Linked DNA regions of Homo sapiens: region 1 is linked to region 2. The links are contacts of gene promoters, found by promoter capture Hi-C in blood cells and fetal thymus (Javierre and others, 2016). All regions are on one chromosome and are shown on one strand. Each heading gives the region's core, a stretch centred on a gene start or on the middle of the fragment in contact. The rest is flanking DNA. Distances are from core to core; before and after follow the strand shown. Region 1 overlaps PAIP2 (poly(A) binding protein interacting protein 2). Region 2 holds the start of CDC25C (cell division cycle 25C).

Evidence for each region. The method cuts DNA at HindIII sites, captures the fragments that hold promoters and counts their contacts. A CHiCAGO score of 5 or more calls a contact.
Region 1: a fragment that was not itself captured here is called in contact with the fragment with the promoter of CDC25C in region 2 in 1 of 17 cell types (monocytes); the score reaches 5.3 in monocytes.

Annotation. Positions count from the first base shown.
Region 1 is chr5:139,343,927-139,349,460 of GRCh38, reverse strand. The region is part of intron 1 of PAIP2 (poly(A) binding protein interacting protein 2); the gene reads right to left. Among named protein-coding and RNA genes, the nearest start is that of PAIP2, 4.8 kb to the right of the region's middle. The HindIII fragment of the contact is 8,536 bases long and covers 1-5,534 here.
Region 2 is chr5:138,329,970-138,335,105 of GRCh38, reverse strand. It overlaps CDC25C (cell division cycle 25C), which reads left to right and starts at 3,302. Exons shown (of 14, transcript NM_001790.5): 1 at 3,302-3,511; 2 at 3,888-4,119. The coding sequence starts at 3,926. It overlaps LOC100128966 (a long non-coding RNA gene), which reads right to left and starts at 3,001. Exons shown (of 4, transcript NR_146628.1): 1 at 2,921-3,001; 2 at 1,578-1,673. RefSeq lists a silencer at 2,980-3,239 and enhancers at 3,290-3,339, 3,350-3,479, 3,191-4,144. The HindIII fragment of the contact is 22,786 bases long and covers 1-5,136 here.

The DNA of each region.
Region 1 (5,534 bases), core at 1,584-4,083, 1.0 Mb before region 2:
CCTGGCCAACATGGCGAAACCCGGTATCTACTAAAAATACAAAAATTAGCCAGGCATGGTGGTGTGAGCTTGTAGTTCTAGCTAGTCAGGAAGCTGAGGCAGGAGAATTGCTTGAACTCAGGAGGCGGAGGTTGCAGTGAGCTAAGATCACACCACTGTACTCCAGCCTGGGCGACAGAGCGAGACTCCGTCTCAGAGAAAAACAACAACAACAACAACAGCAAAAAACAACTCTATACATCCATTTAGAATGCCTTTCCTTCTCCAATATACCCAACCCAATGCTTACTCTGAGCCAAGGCAAGCCCTTTAAAATTATTTTACTTACACACTTCTTCCCTCCCCAATCTTCAGTTTTGTGGAAGTTAGCACTGGTAGATTCCTACTATTAGGTTTTCTCTTACTATGTTTTAAAATAATTTTTGAATTGAATACTTGACAATACACATTATCATCCATTTATATTTTACTAAATTCATCACTCAGGCCATGCACAGTGGCTCACGCTTGTAATCCCAGCACTTTGGGAGGCTGAGGCAGGCAGATCACCTGAGGTCAGGAGTTCAAGACTAGCCTGGCCAACATGGCGAAACCGTCTCTACTAAAAATACAAAAATTAGCTGGGTGTGGTGGCAGGCACCTGTAATCCCAGCTACTGGGGAGGCTGAGGCAGGAGAATTGCTTGAACCTGGGAGGCAGAGGTTGCAGTGAGCCAAGACTGTGTCCTGCACTTCAGCCTAAGCAATAAGAGTGAAACTCTGACTTTAAAAAAAAAAAAAAAAGATACAAAGATTAGCTGGGCGTGGCCAGGCACAGTGGCTCACGCCTGTAATCCCAGCACTTTGGGAGGCCGAGGTGGGCAGATCATGGGGTCAGGAGATCTAGACCATCTTGGCTAACACGGTGAAACCCCATCTCTACTAAAAATACAAAAAAAAATTAGCCAAGTATGGTGGCAGGCACCTGTAGTCCCAGCTACTCAGGAGGCCGAGGCAGGAAATTGGCGTGAACCCGGGAGGCAGAGCTTGCAGTCAGCTGAGACTACGCCACTGCACTCCAACTTGGGCGACAGAGTGAGACTCCGTCTCAAAAAAAAAAAAAAAAATTAGCCAGGCTTGGTGGTGGTCCCCTGTTGTCCCAGCTACTCAGAAGGCTGAAGCAGGAGAATTGCTCGAGCCTGGGAGGCAGAGGCTGCAGTGAGCCAAGATCACGCCACTGCACCCCAGCCTGGGTGACACAGCAAGACCCTGTCTCAAAAAATATAAATAAATAAATAAATAAATTCATCACTCGTAGTTTTTTTTTTTTTTTTTTTGACATGGAGTCTCACTCTGTTGCCCAGGCTAAAGTGCAGCTGCACGATCTCGGGTCACTGCAACCTCTGCCTCCTGAGTAGCTGGAATTACAAGTGTGTAACACCATGCCTGTGCCTGGCTAATTTCTGTATTTTTAGTAGAGATGGGGTTTCACTATGTTGGCCAGGCTCGTCTAGAACTCCTGAACTCAGGTGATCCGCCCACCTCGGCCTCCCGAAGTGCTGGGATTACAGATATGAGCCACCACACTGGCCGAGTTGTTTCTTATATTCATCATCTTCCCCTAACTTCCTATCTTTGTAAAATAGTTCAAAAGGCTACCTGAGGATTTATCATTCTAAGCCAGTGTCCAAAACATCTTTTTTTTTTTTATGGATGTACCACAGTTTTTTAAAAATTATTATTATACTTTAAGTTTTAGGGTACATGTGCACAATGTGCAGGTTAGTTACATATGTATACATGTGCCATGCTGGTGTGCTGCACCCATTAACTCGTCATTTAGCATTAGGTGTATCTCCTAATGCTACAAAACATCTTTTGCCTTCATGTTTGAATAAAAATGTTGTATGGCCTGGCGTGGTGGCTCAGGCCTGTAATCCCACCACTTTGGGAGGCCAAGGTGGGTGGATCATTTGAGGTCAGGAGTTCTAGAAAAGCCCGGCCAATATGGTGAAACCTTGCCTCTACCAAAAATACAAAAATTAGCCGGGCATGGTGGTGGGCGCCTGTAGTGTCAGCTACTCAGGAGGCTGAGGCAGGAGAATCGCTTGAACTCGGGAGGTGGAGGTAGCAGTGAGCCAAGATCGCGCCACTGCACTCCAGCCTGGGCGACAGAGCGGAACTGTGTCTTAAAAAAAAAAAAAAAAAAAAAAAGTTGTAACATGAGTATTTCCATGTAAATGTGCTAAAAAAAAAATTAGTTGTAACAGAATTCTGAGATGTCTGTGCTTCCTGTTGATAATCTATTGTCAATAATTCCAACTTTCAATGTTGTAGAAAATCAATTTTCTTTCCTTTTAAAAATCCTGTTCTAGGCTGGGTGCAGTGGCTCACACCTATAATCCTAGCACTTTAGGAGGCCAAGGGAGGTGGATCACTTGAGGTGAGGAGTTTGAGACCGGCCCTGGCCAACATGGTGAAACCCCATCTCTAGTAATACAAAAACTAAGCCAGGCATGGTGGCGCACAGCTGTAGTCCCAGCTACTCGGGAGCCTGAGGCAGGAGCACTGCTTGAACCTGGGAGGCAGAGGTTGCAGTGAGCTGAGATGGTGCATTCCAGCCTGAGCAACAGACTGAGACTGCATCTCAAAAAATAAAAATAAGCTGGGCGCAGCAGCTCACGCCCAGCACTTTGGGAGGCCAAAGGGGGTGGATCACGAGGTCAAGAGATTGAGGCCATCCTGGCCAACTTGGGCGAAACCCCGTCTCTAAAAATGCAAAAATTAGCTGGACATGGAGGTGCACGCTTGTAGTCCCAGCTACTCGGGAGGCTGAGGCAGGAGAATTGCTTGAACCTGGGAGGCAGAGGTTGCAGTGAGCTGAGATGGTGCCACTGCATTCCAACCTGAGCATCAGAGGGAGACTGCATCTCAAAAAATAAAAATAGGCCAGGTGCGGTGGCTCACGCCTGTAATCCCAACACTTTGGGAGGCCAAGGGGGTGGATCATGAGGTCAAGAGATTGAGACCATCCTGGCCAACATGGTGAAACCCCGTCTCTAAAAATACAAACATTAGCTGGGCGTGGTGGCACATGCTTGTAGTCCCAGCTACTGGGGAGGCTGAGGCAGGAGAATCACTGGAACCTGGGAGGCGGAGGTTGCAGTGAGCCAAGATTGCGCCACTGCACTCCGGCCTGGTGACAGAGCAAATCTCCGTCTCAAAAAAATAAATAAAAATTTAAAAATCCTGTTCTAGACGACAGCTTAAGATGTTTTAACAAATTCATATATTTCACCAGATTTTGGATAGGTAAGAGCAATTTTTTCCCAGTACTACTGCCTGGAAGTCAGCAAACCCTTTCAATTTATCAACTTAGGGCTTTATTGTGTCTTCAGCTGTTTTTCCCCTCCTGAAATGCCTCTTAGACATATTGGTTTCCAGCAGTGTCCTTTTATATTGTCTATGGAATTTTAAAATACAGAAATCTTTTAGGTTTTACAATCTTTCTCCACTAGTTTCATCTTTTAAGAATTCTCATTAAAATTCAAATATAGGCCTGGTGCGGTGGCTCACGCCTGTAATCCCAGCACTTTGGGAGGCCGAGGTGGGCGGATCACAAGGTCAGGAGATTGAGACCATCCTGGCTAACACGGTGAAACCCCATCTCTCCTAAAAATACAAAAAATTAGCCAGGCATGGTGGCAAGCGTCTGTAGTCCCAGCTACTCAGGAGGCTGAGGCAAGAGAATGGCATGAACCCGGGAGGTGGAGCTTGCAGTGAAATGAGATCATGCCACTGCACTCAGGCCTGGGCAACAGAGCAAGACTCCGTTTCAAAAAAAAAAAAAAAAAAATTCAAGCATAGTTCTCTTCTGTTTCTTTCATTAATCTACCTCCATAGGCACCATCTTTTCTCATTCCCTTGGACTCTGTTTTGAACCACTGTGATCCTTACCTTATTTGCATATTTTTTAATCGTATTTTACGCATATATACGTTTAAGCATACTTCCTTTGGCAGTTAAAGAGGATCGCAACATTTTTCAATTGGTCTGTTTTCCACTCTGAAGTCTGTGAAAAGCACCGAATTTTTTGTTTTACTATTTGGCACAGTAAGGTAACGATTAAAAAACATGGGCTCTGGGCTGGGCGCGGTGGCTCACACCTGTAATCCCAGCACTTTGGGAGGCCAAGGCCGTTGGATCACGAGGTCAGGAGATCGAGACCATCCTGGCTAACACGGTGAAACCCCGTCTCTATTAAAAATACAAAAACAAAAGTAGCCAGGTGTGGTGTCGGGTGCAGCTACTCAGGAGGCTGAGGCAGAAGAATGGCATGAACCCTGGAGGTGGAGCGTGCAGTGAGCCGAGATCGCGCCACTGCACTCCAGCCTGGGCAACAGAGCAAGACTCCGTTTCAAAAACAACAACAACAACAACAACAACAAAAACCCATGGGCTCTGGAACCAGGCTGCTTTACTAACTGTGTGACCATGGCAAGTTACTTAACCTGAGTCTCGGTTTCCTCATCTGTTGCATGGGAATTAATAATAGTACCTAGTTAGAGAACCTAGCACATAACAATTGGCATTAACTATCTCGGTGATTAAATATTTAGGGCAGTTAAAGGTCTCTAGACCAAGGGACAAGGTAAAAATTAGAGATCTTAAATCTACAGAGGTGAAACAATGTCACAAGAAAATCCCAAAGTCTACCCTAATCTCAACTGTAGTGTAACAAGGGTAATTAGGTGAGAGCAAGAATGGGTCATCCTAACTGATAAAAGCTCAAGTACATTAGAAATGCCACCCAAATTTATACAAACTGATATAAGAAGCAGAGGCTATTCAAATTCTCCAAACGTGTGCCCATCCAATATGGTGGCCATCGGCTACACAGATCTATTTAATTAAAATTTAGTTCTTCATTTACACTAGCCACATCTCAAGTGCTCATAACCACACACAGTACCTACATCATTGGACAGCACCACTCTAAACAATGAAAAAATTAAGAAAAAAGGGAGTTTTTTGGAACTGAACCTTAGCCTATATCAAATGCAAACTATTCATGCACCTGTGCAACAGGTGGTCTAGATCACAAAGGCAATGACTTGGACAACTTTAATCTTAGACCACAGTCAGAAGACGTAGGTTCAAATCCCAGCTATGCTACATAGCCACCTTAAAGTACCCTAGACCTGTCACTAAATCACACAGCACCACATAATGGTTAAGAGCATAGAATCTCTGGACTATCTGGATTTGAATTCCGACTATCATAGCTCTGTGACATTGGGAAAGTTACTTCACGTCTCATTTGTTATCTTCATTTTACAGTAGGGCCTACCTTCTAGCTATGTTGTGGATCAAATTAGTTAATATTTGTAAAGGCAATGAGAACAATGCCTGGCATTATTGTTATATAAATATTTGCTAAATAAAAATAATCTTTCAGGCTTCTATTTCTTTAATTCCCAAATGGGCAAGATAAAACTTGCTCTGTTGGGAGGCCGACGGGGGCGGATCACAAAGTCAGGAGATCGAGACCATCCT
Region 2 (5,136 bases), core at 2,053-4,552:
CCGGGCTGTCACTGTGCCCTGGCAACAACATGTATGAGTCAGACTGAGGTCAAGGTGAAGGAACACAGCTCACTGCTTATCACAGTGAATCAGGAGCCTAGATAGGGATTCCCCAAGGATGACATAGGATCAATGCCCTCAATCCAACAGAAAAAGTAAATCTTCAAATCAGATTAAACACCAAACTTCCCACCTCCCTAATATTCTTTCTTCTGGGAAGGATAACTTAGATATATTCCAACACCCTCATAAATCAAGATATAAAAGACAATATTTGACTTCCCTTTAAAATAATTCTACCATTTCACAGTTTGTATGTATGCATGTAAACTTACATGTAATTAGCTAAGTATGTTGCAATTAGCTAAGCCAGCTGGAATCATGAGGAGATAGTGAAAATGTTTGCTAGGAAAACAACCTCATTAACAAACGTAGAGCTTTTAAGAGTTTTGTTGGCTGGGCATGGTGGCTCACACCTGTAATCCCAGCACTTTGGGAGGCCGAGGTGGGTGGATTACCTCAGGTCAGGAGTTTGAGACCAGCCTGGCCAACACAGCGAAACCCTGTCTCAACTAAAAATACAAAAATTAGCCAGGTGTGGTGGCGCATGCCTGTAATCCCAGCTACTCAGGAGGCTGAGGCAAGAGAATCACTTGAACAGAGGTTGCAGTGAGCTGAGATTGCGCCATTGCACTCCAGCCTAGGCAACAAGAAAGAAACTGTCTCAAAAAAAAAAAGTTTTTTTGTTGTTGTTTTTAGGAGACAGTCTCACTATGTTGCCCAGGCTGGCCTCAAACTCCTGGGCTCAAGTGATCCTCCCAAGTAGCTGGGACTACAGGCGCACCACTGCATCTGTAAAAAGTCTTAAGGGCGGCCGGGCGCAGTGGCTCATGCCTGTAATCCCAGCACTTTGGGAGGCCGAGGTGGGTGGATCATTTGAGGTCAGGAGTTCCAGAACAGCCTGGACAATATGGTGAAACCCCACCTCTATTAAAAATACAAAAATCAGCCAGGCGTGGTGGCGGGCACCTGTAGTCCCAGCTACTCGGGAGGCTGAGGCAGGAGAATAACTTGAACCCAGGAGGCAGAGGTTGCAGTGGGCCAAGATTGCGCCACTGTACTCTAGCCCGGGAGAGAGCGAGACTCCATCTTAAAAAAAAAAAAAATACTCTTAAGAGCTAGGTGTATAAGTTCCATTTGAGAAATCTCAGAAACTTATTTTTGGGGCTAGATTTTTGGAGAATTTGTTTTAGGAATGCTGCAACTTTGTCAGAGTGCTCAGATTTTAGTATATTTCCATCACCTGACATTGAACTAAAGCCACTTGGCTGACACCTTTGTTGTGACCACCCACAACTGCACTTACTTGAGGACCTGGTGCAGAAAGCACTGGTAGCCAGGTGTGCACTTGCCATAATCTATCTGCTTTTGCCACCAATAGAGAATAACTTTGTCTCTACTTCCCACCTGCAGGGAAGTATACAATTTCCCACAAAGTGTGATTATACTGTAGTCGTCAAAGCAGATAACAACTCATCCCACACTCCCTTAATCCCCAGCCTGATTTTCAAACTCACCTGGCATAGCAAGGTTCTGTGCTAACTCCTACACTCACTGTCTGTATCCTAGAGGACAAAGAATCTTCACACATCTCCTTTCTGGGGAAGCAGGTTCTGCAGATGAAAAGGGTATTAGGATAAAAACCAGCTGGCTACACTGTGCCTCTCAGCCACTACCACCACCAAGATCCTGACAACAGACACAAGTTGCATTTTGACTTTTGTTTCTCAAAGCATGATCTGCAAGCCGTCTGCATGGGTAGCACCTGGGGGCCTTGATAATGACCCCACTTTAGACCTATCGAATTATCGTTTTTGGAGCCTACATCTTAAAGAGCTTCCAAGGTTATTTTGAACATTTTTATTATGGAAATTTTCAAATATACATTGAAGTAAGAAGTATGGGGTAATACCTTACCACGCAAAGTATGGTCGTAGGACCAGCTACCTCACCATCAGCTGGGGGCTTGTTAGAAGGGCAGAATCTTGGGCCGCAACCGCAACCCAGACATCCCGAATCAGAATCTGCATTTAGCAGGTCCTCAGGTGGTTAGTGTGCAAATTAAACCTTGAGAAGCACAGATATGATGGACCCTCCTGCCCCCATCACTCAACAGTCAGGGTCAATCTTGTATCATCAATACCTTCCCCCAGCACAGGATTATTTAAAAGCAAATCCCTAACATTAGGAATGTCTTTTTGTTTGTTTCACTCTAATGCCCAGGCTGGAGTGCAGTGGCGCAACCTCTGTCTCCCGAGTTCAAGCAGTTCTCATGCCTCAGCCTCCCAAGTAGCTGGGATTACAGGTGTGTGCCACCACAACCGGCTAAATTTTGTATTTTTAGTAGAGACGGGGTTTCATCATGTTGGCCAGGCTGGTTTTGAACCCCTGACCTCATGTAATCTGCCCGCCTCGGCCTCCCAAAGTGCTGGGATTACAGGTGTGGGCCAACGCGTCCGGCCAATAATTTATAAATATCACCTCGTCAATGTTCAAATTTTCATTAATAACCAATCTTTGAGGTCCTCTGGATTGCGATAAGGATTATACCAAGATGATTTAATTCCTCCACTTTCCCTGCAACGGAATTTCTTTTTACCCACGTGAGCTAGAGTCTCTGAGATGCTGCACACTAAAAGAAACACCAAACAAAGCTCTTGGAAGGGGCTAATGCCTCTCAGCATAAACACACACACCCGTCTCGCCCCAACACTTGCCACGCCGGCAGCAAACGCTCCATCTCCCGTGGAAGGCCAGCAAAACTTAGAAGAAAACGTCCGCGAAAACGGCACGAGAAAGAAGCGAAGAAAATGAAACGCTTACAACACCCTCCACCCAAAATAATCTCTCCTAGTATTACCCTAGTGAATGGACATCACTAGTAAGGCGCGGTTTAAATCTCCCGGGGTTCGTGGGGCTGAGGGAACGAGGAAAACAGAAAGGGTGTGGAGATTGGTGAGAGGGAGAGCCAATGATGCGCCAGGCTCCCCGTGAGGCGGAGCTTACCCCGCAGCCTGCCTAACGCTGGTGGGCCAAACACTATCCTGCTCTGGCTATGGGGCGGGGCAAGTCTTACCATTTCCAGAGCAAGCACACGCCCCCAGGTGATCTGCGAGCCCAACGATAGGCCATGAGGCCCTGGGCGCGCGCGCGGAGATTGGCTGACGCAGCTTAGAGGCGAGCGGGGATAGGTTACTGGGCTGGCGGAAGGTTTGAATGGTCAACGCCTGCGGCTGTTGATATTCTTGCTCAGAGGCCGTAACTTTGGCCTTCTGCTCAGGGAAGACTCTGAGTCCGACGTTGGCCTACCCAGTCGGAAGGCAGAGCTGCAATCTAGTTAACTACCTCCTTTCCCCTAGATTTCCTTTCATTCTGCTCAAGTCTTCGCCTGTGTCCGATCCCTATCTACTTTCTCTCCTCTTGTAGGCAAGCCTCAGACTCCAGGCTTGAGGTAAGTCCGCAGCCGTCTCCGCCACGGAATCACGGAGACCCCATTGTCCCCCTTAGGGTCCAGTCGGGCCCCCACAGACAGAGGTTGGGAGGGCCGAATGGGGACTATCGCGAGTTACGAGACCCGGGTTCTTTCTAGTCAGGAGTCTCGAGCTGTGTGGCGTGGAACAAGTCAAAATCCTCTCTTCATTCCATCTTTAAGGTCCTAAGGTTGCCTCTCGTCGGTGAATTCAGGTTCTAACCTTAAGCCAGGCTGTGAATCACCCTTCGGGGTTGCCCCTCTTCCAGTGTTGATTCGCCTGGCTGGAAAGGGTGGAGGAGTTTAGGAAAGCTGAGGGAACTGTGATGTACCGATTTAGATGACGTTTTCCTCCTAGCTAGGTTTTGTTTTTCTCCTGGTGAGAATTCGAAGACCATGTCTACGGAACTCTTCTCATCCACAAGAGAGGAAGGAAGCTCTGGCTCAGGACCCAGTTTTAGGTCTAATCAAAGGAAAATGTTAAACCTGCTCCTGGAGAGAGACACTTCCTTTACCGTCTGTCCAGATGTCCCTAGAACTCCAGTGGGCAAATTTCTTGGTGATTCTGCAAACCTAAGCATTTTGTCTGGGTAAATATACTTTTATTTTTACACTGTATTGCCTTTGCTATTTCCAAACAGTTGGGTTTGTTTGTTGGTTTGTTTTCAATTATCCCGGCTCAAAGGTCAGGCTTTAAGTCTCAACTCTGCCCTTGACTGTGTAACCCTTTTGAGTCTCACCTTCTTTTCTGTGACAAGAAATAATCTCAGCCAGGCGAGGTGGCTCATGCCTGTAATCTCCGCACTTTGGGAGGCCAAGGAGGGCGGATCGCCTGAGTCTAGGAGTTCAAGACCAGCCTGGGCAACATGGCAAGACGCCGTCTCTACAAAAAATATTAAAAGTTAGCTGAGTGTGGTGGTGTGCACCTATAGTCCCAGCAACTCGGGAGGCTGAGGTGGGAGGATTGCTTGAGCCCGGGAGGTGGAGGCTGCAGTTAGCCAAGATCGCCTCACTGCACTTCAGCCTGGGAAACAGAGTGAGACTCTATCTCAAAAAGAAAAGAAAAGACAAAGAAATAATAATCGCTTCCTATCTTACTAGGATCTTGTGAGAATCAAATGATGTGATAACTGGGAAAAGTCTTTGAAAACCGCTGCATTACGAGTCGGTCACTTTATTAGTATTAATATTAGTGTTATTGCAGTTGTACTTTGAATTCTGATCATACCATGTCTCAACTAGCAAAGAGAAGTAGTACCTGAGAAAAACTAGGGACCCCAGGGAGAAATCAAGCCTGTGTTCATAGTGCTCAGGACCGGGAATGTGGAGTCAAGATCCCCCTCGGCCAATAAACTCTGGGCCTCATTTAAAAAAAAAAAAATTATCTGTTTCAGTATGTTGGTAAGGAGAAAATAAAGTACAGATTATGGTAGTGGGAGATTTTTCTCAGCCCAGTCTGATATATTTCCCAAAAGCAATTAGATTTATTTGGACACTGTTCAGATGATCTGATAGTCATTAAGGGGTGTTTCAAATGAACAGGCTTGGCCAGGCGTTGTGGCTCACACCTGTAATCCCAGCACTTTGGAAGGCCGAGGTGGGTGGAT